Linked DNA regions of Homo sapiens: region 1 is linked to region 2. The links are contacts of gene promoters, found by promoter capture Hi-C in human tissues and cell types (Jung and others, 2019). All regions are on one chromosome and are shown on one strand. Each heading gives the region's core, a stretch centred on a gene start or on the middle of the fragment in contact. The rest is flanking DNA. Distances are from core to core; before and after follow the strand shown. Region 1 has its middle 9.2 kb from the start of NPY4R. Region 2 holds the start of SYT15 (synaptotagmin 15).

Evidence for each region. Contacts are between HindIII fragments. The study calls those that stand out against the background at their distance.
Region 1: a contact is called between a fragment that was not itself captured here and the fragment with the promoter of SYT15 in region 2, in 5 of the 25 tissues and cell types used here (H1 embryonic stem cells, IMR-90 fibroblasts, aorta and 2 more).

Annotation. Positions count from the first base shown.
Region 1 is chr10:46,453,777-46,459,713 of GRCh38, forward strand. No RefSeq gene overlaps it. Among named protein-coding and RNA genes, the nearest start is that of NPY4R, 9.2 kb to the right of the region's middle. RefSeq lists a silencer at 5,766-5,937. The HindIII fragment of the contact is 3,996 bases long and covers 2,158-5,937 here.
Region 2 is chr10:46,577,249-46,583,209 of GRCh38, forward strand. SYT15 (synaptotagmin 15) reads left to right here and starts at 1,880. Exons shown (of 8, transcript NM_031912.5): 1 at 1,880-1,927; 2 at 2,916-3,120; 3 at 3,646-3,788; 4 at 4,648-4,943. The coding sequence starts at 1,921. It overlaps SYT15-AS1 (SYT15 antisense RNA 1), which reads right to left. Exons shown (of 2, transcript NR_155739.1): 2 at 4,920-5,890. RefSeq lists enhancers at 1,745-2,622, 2,623-3,502. The HindIII fragment of the contact is 17,987 bases long and covers 1-5,961 here.

The sequences.
Region 1 (5,937 bases), core at 2,906-5,405, 120 kb before region 2:
CTTGGGACCAAACAGCTACAAAACCAGATGCCCGCTCTCCACAAATAAGAGGCTGAAGTGCAGCTCTCCACTGATGAACTATAACAGTTGGAAATTCACTTGTACTATGGATATTTCTTCTGCACCTCTCGTGAACAGCCTGTTCTTGCTGAGGGCTGGACAGTAAATAAAACATCTACAGTGCCTACTTCCATGGGGTTCATGTTCTAATGAGGGAGTGGAGACCCTCAACAAAGAACCAGCCAATGTGCTAAGTCCTGTGGCAGAAACTGGGCAGAAAAGGGAAGAGAGAGGGAGGATGGTTATATTTTTACAGGATGGTTAAAAAATTAGTCTTCTGTTTTTTGAGACAGGCTTTCACTCTGTTGCCCAGGCTGGTGTGCAACGGTGTGATCATGGCTCACTGCAGCCTTGACCTTCTGTGCTTAGTCAATCCTCCCACCTCAGCCTCCCAAGTAGCTCAGAATACAGGCTTGTGCCACCATGCCCAGCTGATTTTTGTAATTTTTGTAGAGAGAGATGGGGTTTCACTATGTTGTCTAGACTGGTCTCAAATTCCTGGGCTCAAGTGATCTGCCTGCTTTGGCCTCCCGAAGTGCTGGGATTACAGGCACAAACCACCATGCCCAGCCAGGAAATTAATCTTCTAATAAAGGTTCACTTAAGGTGAAGGGAGCAAGGGAGAAAGTTGATATCAAGGGGTGGCATTCCAAGCAGCAAGAGTAGGAAGTAGAAAGGCCTGAGGCGGGAAAGGTCTTAGCCTGTTCAAAAGATAGCAGAGAAGCAAGCACTGCTGAAGAGGAGTGGGTGAGGGGAAGGGTAGTGGGAAGTGAGGCCAGAGAGGGGTGGATGATCTGCAGACACAGGTGGAGACTGTGACTGTGAAATTTGCCCTGAATATGATGGAAAGCCACTGGAGGGTTGAACAAAGTTGTAGAGGCACCTGACTAGTTTCAGTGGATCACTCTGGCTGAATGAGGCCAGAAAGGAGGCCTCTGCCATGATCTCAGTAGGGAGGACAGTGGCTTGAACCTGAAGGCAGAGCCTGGAGGCAGTGAGAAGTGGTCATTCTGAGAACATTTTGAAGGCACAGCTTACAGAACTCACCGATAGATTGGATGAGGGTTGTGAATAGGAGGTGATCCCAAAGACTGTGGCCCAAGCAAATGAAAAGCAGGACTTGCCCTTTTCTGAAAAGGAGGACACTGAGGAAGGAGGTAGCAGGGACAAATCTGGAGTTTGCTTTTAAATGTGCCAAGCTTGAGATGCTGACTGGTGTCTAGGAAACACAAAGCATGCCTGGACACCCAAATCTGGAGGTCAGGGAGAAGTTCAGACTGGAGATACACTGGGGAACATTAGAGTATTTGTGGCATTTAGCACCAGAAAACTGGGTGAGCTCACCAGGGGAATGAGAGGACCTCCAGGGCTCCTTGGGGATGCTCCAGTGTCCCAAAATCAGGGCAACAAGAGTCCAAGAAAAGAGATGGGGAAGAAGAGCCCAATGAGGCAGGGAGAACCATGACCATTATGCCCTGAAAAAGCCACATGCAGGAGTCTCAAGGAGAAGGGAGTGACCAACTGCCCAATACAGCTGACGACCATATCAGACAAGACTGAGAACTGGCCACAGGATTTGGCAACATGGCAAGAGCTATATGAATGGACTGGTGAGCACATAAGAGGAGAGGAAGTGGAAGCTTCAGGATTAGACAGGGGGCCAGGCACAGTATCCCATGCCAATCCCAGCACTTTGGGAGGCCGAGACAGAAGGATCACTTGAGGCCAGGAGTTCAAGACCAGCCTGGGCAACAGAGAGAGACCTCATCTCTACAAAAAAGGAAAAAAAAAAGGAAAATCAGCCTGGACAACATAGGGAGACCCAGTCTCTATCAAAAAAAGAAAAAAAAAGATTTAATTTTTTAATTAGCTGGACATGGTGGTATGCACCTGTGGTGCTAGCTATTCAAGAGGCTGAGGTGAGATGATCACTTGAGCCCAGGAGTTCGAGTTGCAGTGAGCTATGTTCATGCCACTGCATTCCAGCCTGGGTGACAGAGCAAGACCCTGTCTCTAAAAGAACAAAAAAAAAAAAGAGAGAGAGAGAAAGAGGCTAGACAAGTCTCTGGAGGAGTTTTGTGCAAAAAGGAGCAGAGAACACTGATGGTGTGAGAGTGATGTTCTTCAGGAGATGACAGTGAATGGGATCTGGGGACAATGGAGGTCTTTGGGGCTGTTAGCTTGTTTGTTCTTCTCTGGCCATTCCAGCACTCAGGGTCACCTTCCCCTCCAGGCCCCTCCACTCCAGTGACTCCTTTGGTGACTTATCCACTCATGCATTCTGAGTCTTTCCTGTATCACCTCCTGACCCCTCCAGTGGCTCAGTCACTATCTAGCTGTGTGACCTTGGATGAGTCACTTAACCTCACAAGAAGCAGCAATCAGTGAGTCCGGTGACTTCAGTTTCTTCCAGTATCAGGGTGGACAGAGAGTCACAGTGGTAGGACCTGGGGGTGTTTCTCTAAGGTATGTGGAAATTTAGGCTCCCCTTTGATCTCAGATTCATGGAGAACCCAGAACTGGTTATTAGAAAACTCTTGCGGAGTGAATAGGTAAGCTTCTTTCATATTAATTCTTCACTTGGCAAATGCTTAAGTGCCTGCTCTATCCAAGGGTGTGTCAGAGGTTTTGCAAGGGTGGAGGATGAGCCTCTTGGATTTTACCCTCAAAGAGCTCATAACCTTGTGGGGTGGTGGGTGTGTCTATTCAAAACCATAACAGGGCAGACTCTCTGGCACATCATTTTGTGTTCATCTTTAGGACCAGTTGTCACAGTTGCACACACAAATTAAAGTTCCACAGGAGGTGGGATGTTTTCGGTCTTGTACTCTATGTGCCTGACACATCGTAAGCAGTCAGTACATGTTTGTTGAATGAAAGCAGTATTGAATGGTACCATTTAATTTGTGTTTTGAAGCAAGGGTGGGATTTGGACCTACACAGATGGGCGAGGGGGCGCATTGCAGACTGGCGGGGGTTGGGGTGGCTGGAGGCAGGAGGAGGGAATGGCGGGAGCAGATGTACAGAGACAGTGACACCCAAGGCATGGTTGGTAATTGCAGGCCGACTGTGACTGGATCGTGTGATATGTCAGGATGCAAAGAGACTGAAAAAGTAAGTTGGGGCCAGATGGTGGAGAGGGTTGAATTCAAGCTATGTTAAAGGGATCAGATTTATCTATAGTAGGATGATCTCATGTTCCCATTTCCCAGGGTAGTTTTGCCTGTTGTCCCAGGGTGATTATTCATGGTGGCCCCTTTCATGCTCAAGTATCCCTGTTTGGATAAGTTATGTGGTCCTGCAACCCTAAAGGCTTTGTGGAACCCCCAAAGGTTTCACAGAGGGACAGGGTCAGGCTAGCCTTGAATGGTCAGTGCCCACAGTGTTTGCTGGACCTGGAGGCAGGAGCTGGGACACCCTCCAGTCTGGGCGATACAGGTCAAAGTCTTTTGGTTAATGGTAAATCACCAACAGTGGCCAGGGTACGGTGAAATGGGCACTCTTCAGGGAGTGCCCTGAAATTGTTCCAGACCTTTTTTGGAAATCAACTTTGCAGCACACGTCAAGAGCCTTGAAAACTGTCCATGCCCTTTGTTAATTCCACTTCTGGAAATCTCTCCTAAGGAAATAATTCCAAATATAGAAAAGGTTCTTTGCATAGACGTTCATCATAAAACTCTATGCAACAGGTCTAGAGACAGCTCAGAATGCCACAACAGATGATATTAAGGACATAGGATATATCTATCAATGGACTCTAAGTTCCATAGAACAGGGACAATGTCTGATTACAACCACTGTATCCCCACAGCTAACATAGTGTCTGACATATTTAATGAATAAACAAGTGAATAAAAATTTATATCAGGTTAAACAAAAAAGATATAAAACAATCCTTAAATATGATATATAAGTTCCCATGTGGACACACTATGCTCTCAACCATTTTTTTAAAAAACAGACATATGTATATGACTATGCATATGAAAACTTTTAAAATGACTCCCCAAAATGTAAACAGTGATTATGTCTGAGTGGTGGAACTCCTGATAATTTCCTTTTTTCAATTTTATTTTTGTATATATTGTATATCTTTCAGAATGAATATGATTACTTTTATAATGGAAAAAAAAAGGCCACATCAATACTTTAAAAAAGAAAGGCTAGCATTAGGCAGGGTTTTAGCACTCACAGCCAGGACGTGATAAAGTTTTGCATCTTCCAAGGGTTCCCAGTCAGTCTTTGTGGTATGAGTCTCCAATTCCAGCCATGATCCTCCTCTGTAAGGTGGGTACCTCCCACAATGGGTGGCAGAGGGTCCACTTGCTGGCTAGAGATGCCCTCCCACCCCCCCCACCACCCCCAGGAGCTAGAGATACTGAGGGGTACTGGCTTTCACTGGGACAGTTCGTACACTTGTAAGCGGCCATCAAAAATGATATCTAGGCTGGGCACGGTGGCTCATGCCTGTAATCCCAGCACTTTGGAAGTCAGAGCAGAGCGGATCACCTGAGGTCAGGAGTTCGAGACCAGCCTGGCCAACATAGTGAAACCCCATCTCTACTAAAAATACAAAAAAAAAAAAAAAATAGCTGGGTGTGGTGGCAGGCACCTGTAATCCCAGTTACACAGGAGGCTGAGGCAGGAGAATTGCTTGAATCCAGGAGGCAGAAGCTGCAGTGAGCCAAGATCGTGCCATTGCACTCCAGCCTGGGCAGCATGAGTGAAACTCCTTCTCAAAAAAAAAAAAAAAAAAAGATATCCAGCAAGATGAAAAACTGTTGATGATACAGTTTTAAGTGAAATAGAGCAGAATACAAAAAGCCATGTTCACTAAGAACATATCTATGCAAACTATGCACATGGCAAATATTTATCAAAAGAATGAAAAAGCCTCACAAAAAATATGACCACATGCAGCCAGAGATGAGACAGACAACCAAAACTGAATGCACCTTTTCAGCAATAACAATTTTAGAGACGTTCCCAGAACTAGGATGGGTGTCTACAGGTTCTTACCCAGTGTCTCTAGGCTCCAGGGCAACCTGTTTCTTAGAGCAGAGCTTCTCAAACTTTAATGTGCACACAATTAACCTGGGATCCTGATAAAACATGGATTTGGATTCAATCGAGCTGGGCTGGCAACAAGGACTCTGAATATCTACAAGCTCCAGGTGATGCTGGGGCACAGAACACACTCAACGAGGCTTCTACCCACTACCCCAATTCTTAGCACCAAACACTTTCCCCAGAGGCCTAGCCTGGCCCTCCGTCCTCAAGCATGTCTGCACCTGAAATCATCTTTGTCCCCAGCATCTTGGCACCATCGAGACTAATAATGAGAAGCAACTCCAGGCACTTGCGTGGGATCCAGGGGGGCCTGAGGCCCCCAATTCCTTGGGAAGCTTGAACAATGACATCTTTCTGGGGTGATGGGAAGACAAAAGTGACTCCATCTTGGATGCTAATTTTCCCATGTTGACTTCTGATTAGCCCCAGTCCCATGAATGCCTCCTGACTCCTACTTTATTTACTGTCCCGAGTGTAAGAATATGTACTCCTGCTTTTAGATCAAAGCAAGCTTGATGTTATCATGCAAATTCTGGGCTATGATGCACATGGCGTTCTTGCCTGCTCTGGCACACTACCTTTCACTGTCTTGCTGGAGCATGTATATCCTTTTCCCTTGGTATATAAGCCTTGGGTCCGAGAGTAACAGTGCAGAGATCTGCCTGTCTTGTGGCCACCCGAGACCACCCGCCTGCTTAAAAGTTCCCTCAATAAATCACTCAATACCAACAAACTGGATTTGTCTGCTTCCTTCTTTGGTCTCTTGGCTCCTTTGGCATTTGGGGGTTGCTTTGTGCATGTGGGCTT
Region 2 (5,961 bases), core at 630-3,129:
CAGAAAGAGTTGATGTGAAATGACCTGGAGTGGGAGAGGTTAGAAAAGGCTGTGCTGCCGGCTTTGAAGACAAAGGAAAGGGCCACTAGCTAGCAGCCTCTAGGAGCTGGAAACGCTGGGAAACAGCTCCCTTGCCTCCAGAAGGCACAGGCCCTGCCAACCCAGTTTAGATTCCCGACCCCCCGAACTGTGAGATAACATGCATGTGGCTTAAACTACTCAATCTGTGGTACTTTGTTGCAGGGGCAACAACAAACATACAGACATCTAACTCAGACCCGAGGCCTTGGGTGGGACCCAGGCCCCATTTCCTGAGACACCTGCTCCCACAGCGACCTGGGGTAAGCAGAAGTGGGGGAGGATTCTCCAGACACCCCAGACTGTCTCCAAGTAGAGCGGAGATCTCGCCAGTTAAGCGCACAGCTGAGGACAGTTACTGGGTGAAGTGGCCTGGGTCTCCGCCTTCTCATGCCCCCACCGCCCAGACCCTAGAAGGGGAGTGGCTGCGGCCTCTGCACCCTGGCGCTGAGGGCTCCCAGACCCGGCCCAGTGGGGCACCCCAGTTCACCACCCTCCTCGCCTTAGGTGAGCCAAAGCCCAGGCAGGGTGGAGCCTCACGCACACTGACTGCCCCCTAGGACAGGCACAGGTGACGCGGGGGTGTGGGACCCAGGCTATGACTCTGGACATAACCTTCAAGGCTGTAAAACGAGAAGGTCCATCCCCCCAAAACACGCACTCCCCCACAACCACCCCCTCCCCCCCCCCACACACACACACTCCCCTGCACCACAGATACACACATTCCTTTCGCTCCCCACTCAGACGCCTCGAGGCCTCGGCGGGGGAACCATAGGGGCGCGACCAGGGCGCGCCGAGGTGTGACCAGAGAGGACACGCAGCGACCTTACTCCCGCCTTTCCCGCAAGGCGCGTTCGCCAGCCTGGACTAGTGGGCACGGGCCCTGCGTTCTAATAATCACCATAATAATAGGCGCTGGGTGTACAGAGGGGACCCAGGCGACGCTGGCCTCCATCCGATAACCACCGTAACAGGGGCTGGGCCGCGCCGCTCCTCCGCTCTAAGTGCTCTTTACATGCTTCTTAAGTTACCGGCAGGCCAGCCGCCCTTACGAGAGCCCCTCACGGACATTAACCCAATTGAGAAGACTGAACCCAGCTTACGAACGTTAAGTTGTCCCAAATCGCAGGGCTGGCGAGTGAGGAGCCTGAATTGGAACCCAGGAGCTTCTGGAACCCGCTCCAGAATTGCGCTCTCGACCGGTTTGTCCGCTGAGAGCGAACGGGTGCGCGAGCGCCGCATCCCTGCCCAAGGCCATCAGGCAGGCAGCGCTGGGGCCGGGGACCCGCGCGGAGACTCCACCCCGGGATCCGGGAAGGCTCCCCCGAGCCGGGGTCGGAGCTGCGGCTGGAGGGGCCTCGGCTTGAGGAGGATCTGGGAGGGCGGGGGCTCAGTCCTGGCCACCAGGTGTGAGGGGTCGGGTGCGGAGCCCTGTGTCAGACGCGGCGGTGAAGGCTGTAGCCCTGCTCTCCGGGATGGGGGTGGTACTCTCACCCCACCCTGCCCCAAGCCGCAGGGAGCCCCTGGCGCCCCTGGCGCCCGGGACCCGCCCTGGCTGGAGCCCTGCGGTTTCCGGGAGCTCACGGTCGGCTCTGCGCCCCTCCACCGCCGGGCCTGGGCCTGGGCCAGGGACGGGCTGGGGCGGGACTGCGGCCTCGGGGCGCTGGGTCCCTGCCCCTGCCGTGCACTGCGCGGCTCCCCGCGCCGCAGCTGGGCACCAGCAGCACCACGGACCGCCCCTGTGCTCGCCCGACGGCGCCCCGCGGCGCTTTAAGAGACGGCCTGGCAGCCCAGCCCCAGCCGCCCAGACCGGCGAGACCAGCCTGCGGGAGCAGCCCCATGGCGGGTAAGCGAGCCTCGCCTCCCCAGCCCAGCCCCGGCCCCTCTGCGACCCTTCCAGCACTTGCCTCCGCCCCGCCGCCCCCGCTGGGGTGCAGCGCCTGCCCTGCCCGGCCTCGGCGCGCTCTTGGAGGGGCACTGGGATGGAGTAGACGCTGAGGCCCGCTCTTCGCGGTCAGTTGCGGCTTAGGAGGTGTGGGGGGTCCGGCCTTCTCACCACCCCACCCAGTGCAGATCCCTGAGACCTGAATGCCCCGCGGCCGCACGTCACCCTAAGGGAGGCACCTTTTTGGCCCGCCCCAGGTGGCCAGCGGTTGGAACCCAGCGTCTGAGCACCCCCGGGGCGAAGCCTCCTAGGTCCCGCAAATGCGGACGTGTGAGGGCCAGCAGCAACGGGGTCTTGCCCCCTTTTCCTCCCCACCTCGTCCACCGCGTCGCACCAACTCCCCTAAGCGCGTGCTCACCTTGATAGAGGGCTAGGGGAGGGAGCGGGTGTTAGAGAAGAGTCCAGCCTTGCAGCAGGTTCCAGGGCCCCAGAGGGTAGAGGTTTGATTGCAGACCAGGGGGAAGGTACCTTTCAGGGCTTTCCTTAACTGACTGCGTCCACACCCCAGCTCCCCTCCTGGCCTCAACAGGAGCCCAGGGGATATGGAGGTTCTGGTGAGGGCAGGTTTGATTTCTACTCAGAAGCGCAAGGAAATGGCTTCTTTAAGCCAGAATCCCAAGGGCAGGGCCAGCTGTTTTCCAAGGAAAACTAGAAGGTTCTGCCCAGGGCTCTCAGACCCTGGGGTAAACGGCTTCTCCTCTGAGAGCTGGCGGAACCTAGCCAGCAGCATCCCTCCCGGAACCCATCCCCAGCAGGCCTGCTCCTATCACTCCTGAGATCAAACCCAGAGGCAGGGTTGCTGCCCTAGTTCTGCCCCAGCAGGCCAGGGCTGTGAGGGAGAGTGGCTTTCCCAGGCAGGCATCATAGTACTGGTGGTCTCTGCCCCCAGAGCAGCTGGCCCTGGTGATTGGGGGCACCATCGGGGGGCTGCTGCTGCTGCTGTTGATCGGGGCAAGCTGCTGTCTGTGGAGAAGGTTCTGTGCCACCCTCACCTATGAGGAGCTGCCTGGGACACCAGCCATGGCCACCACAGCTGCCTCCAGTGGGCAGCGGGACAGGCCCTGCCAGCCGCATGCTAGGACCCAACTGAGCAGGTGAGGCAGGATGTGGGGCCAAGTGCGCCCCTGGAATTTCCCTCAGGGTGGGGTCGAAAAGGAAAGTTCTGTTTATGGGGGTGCCTCTTCTATGCTGCTTCGGTGCTGGGAGCTATCACAAAGAAACCCCAGAAACCTCACATCAGCTATTAGGCAGGTGTTATGAAACCCATGTTCCAGGTGAGGAATCTGAGGCTCAGTGCACATAAGCAACAGGTCCAGAGAACACAATTAGTAAGTGGCAGAACAGGAATCCAAACCCAGACTGGCTGACACTGTCAGGTGCTGTGTTCCTTCTTCAAATCCCACTGCTGTGTGTGTGTGTGTGTGTGTGTGTGTGTGTGTGTGTGCGTGTGTGTGTGTGTGTGTTGCCTGGTATGGGCCCAGAAAATGGTGCCCTGGCCTCCTCCTGGCTCCCGATGGCTTTTCTTCCTCCAGCCCCTGGTGCTCAACCGTCCTGGCTGAGCGCTCTGAGACCACACCATTGACTTGCCACCTACATGTTGTCTCCCTGACTCTGGACAGGCCACCAGCTGTGCCATTCGTGGTGCCCCCAACCCTTCAAGGCCGAGATTGGGTGCCCCTGCACAGTGGAGAGTGGGCCGATGCCCCATGGGACCCCTGCCCGGCATCAGAGCTGCTGCCTCACACCTCCAGCGGCGGCCTTGGTGAGTGTCCTTGCCAGGGCTGCCCAGAGGTCAGGGTCTGCTCGGGTGGCCCCATCTGCTTTCACCAGCTTGGCTCCGGAACACAACCTGAACCAGCCAGGGATGCCAGGGACCACCCAGGGACCACTCTTTCTGGGTGCTTTCATTTATGAAGTGCTTGCTGCACCCCATGAGGGTAAGATATGGCCTTGGGTGCTGATTTGGAGTGAGACCTCACCATGACTCTGAGGGGGAGGAATTATCACCCCATTTTACATAGTCTTAACTGAGGCTGTAAGCAACAGATTGGAATTGGAACCCAGGCACGCCATGTACAGAACTTGTGCTGGGTCCCACTCTAGGATGATGGGTTGGTTGACCAAGAGGACAGAATGGTAGGGGCTGCAAACACAGCTTTCTGCCACCTCTTTGCCCTGAAGATCTACCAAGAGACCATCACAGGAACCACCCAATAATCACCTTGGCCCTTCTAATTTGAAGAGGAAGAAGAAAGGCAATGTTTTATCGCTGAGTCATTCCCTAGACGCCATGGAAGGGGGCTAGGCCAGGTGATGGGCACTGTGTCCTTGAAACAGGTCCTGACCTCCAAGGATGGGGGCCAATCCCAGGGGGCAGGACTCTGCTGGATCCCCAGCCTGGCCATGCAATGCCTTCATGGTGAGAAGGCTTCTTGGAGGAGCTGCACCAGAGAGAGGGGATGTGTTTAGCCTGGTGAGGAGAGTGGGGCAGATGTGGTCAGGCTAGCTGAGGCTCAGCAGAGACGGATGGGCCAGGATGGGGATGGGTGCCCAGAGCTTGCCACTGTCTCCCATGCCCCTGCCTTCCTCTGGCCTGCCAGCCCTCCCACCCTCTGTCATAGGAGATGCATGTATGGTGGGGGCCATCAACCCAGAGCTGTACAAGTTCCCGGAGGACAAAAGTGAGACCGACTTCCCCGACGGCTGCCTGGGGCGGCTGTGGTTCTCGGTGGAATATGAGCAGGAGGCTGAGCGGCTGCTGGTGGGCTTGATCAAGGCACAGCACCTGCAAGCCCCCTCGGAGACCTGCAGCCCCCTGGTGAAGCTCTACCTGCTGCCCGATGAGCGGCGCTTCCTCCAATCCAAGACCAAACGCAAAACCTCCAACCCGCAGTTTGACGAGCACTTCATCTTTCAGGTACAGCCTCTGGAGCAGGCAGGGTCTGGTGCCCTCCGCGTTGCTGGGAAGGTGCAGACCTACAGGAGAGCCCAGCCTCCTGTACCAGCCAGGGCTCTGCAGCCCCCGGGACCCTTGATGCCACCAGCTCTGCTTTACCTAGTCTGCTAGGTTAAGGCCTATAGGAGCTGATCCCTGATAGAGGGGCAGGGGAGAGATTTGGTGAGTGGTGACCAGAAGCCTGGGCTTCCCTGTCCTGACTACCTGGAAGAGAGTGGGTGAAAACACAATTTTAGAGCAACTACTGAATGCCAGGCCCTGGCCTATGGGGCTCAGGGGAATTATCCCAAAGGCCTGAAGCACTATGGGGTTTCTGGCAAGTTTATCTAAGGAAGGCAAAAGACAGGCCTCAGCGTGAATGCAGAAGCTTCCTGTGCTGTCAGAGGCCAGCGCGGGGCCCGAGTGCCCTCACAGGGTAGGTGTGGTGCCTTGCTGCACTCTGGGCTGGCCGGCTTAGGGTCTGGAGGTGGAGAGTCTATTGGGGCACCGAGCCAGTTTCACAGGGGCCTGGGAGCCTTAGCAGGTGACTGGGGGCCCTTAGGGGAAGGAGTCATCGAGACCTGCCAAGAGGCCTTGGACAAACATGTTCTCAAGAGCTGGGTGGCAAGCTAGCCAAGAGGTGAGGTTCAGCCAGTCAGCTTTCAGGAGGAGTGTGACTGCGGAGGCCAGGGCCATCACTTGTGCCTTCCGCCCTGGCTGAGAGCTGGGAAGAGGGGTGCCATCGGGCCTGGTCCCGGGCCGTCTTTCTGAGGCCAGGGCTGTGAGAATTCACAGGTGAATCGCTCTTCTCAAGACATCAGAATCCAAGGCTGCAGCCTTGCTGACGTGCGACACGTCATGCTTGCAGGCTAATTTTTCTTAGCTCATCACTTCCCCACTCTATCTCGCCCCAGCTTGATCCAATCCCTCTGTGGAAAAGGGAGAAGGGGAAAGAAAAGAAAATCAATATTAATGGGCCATCTGCTGGAGGTCAGACACT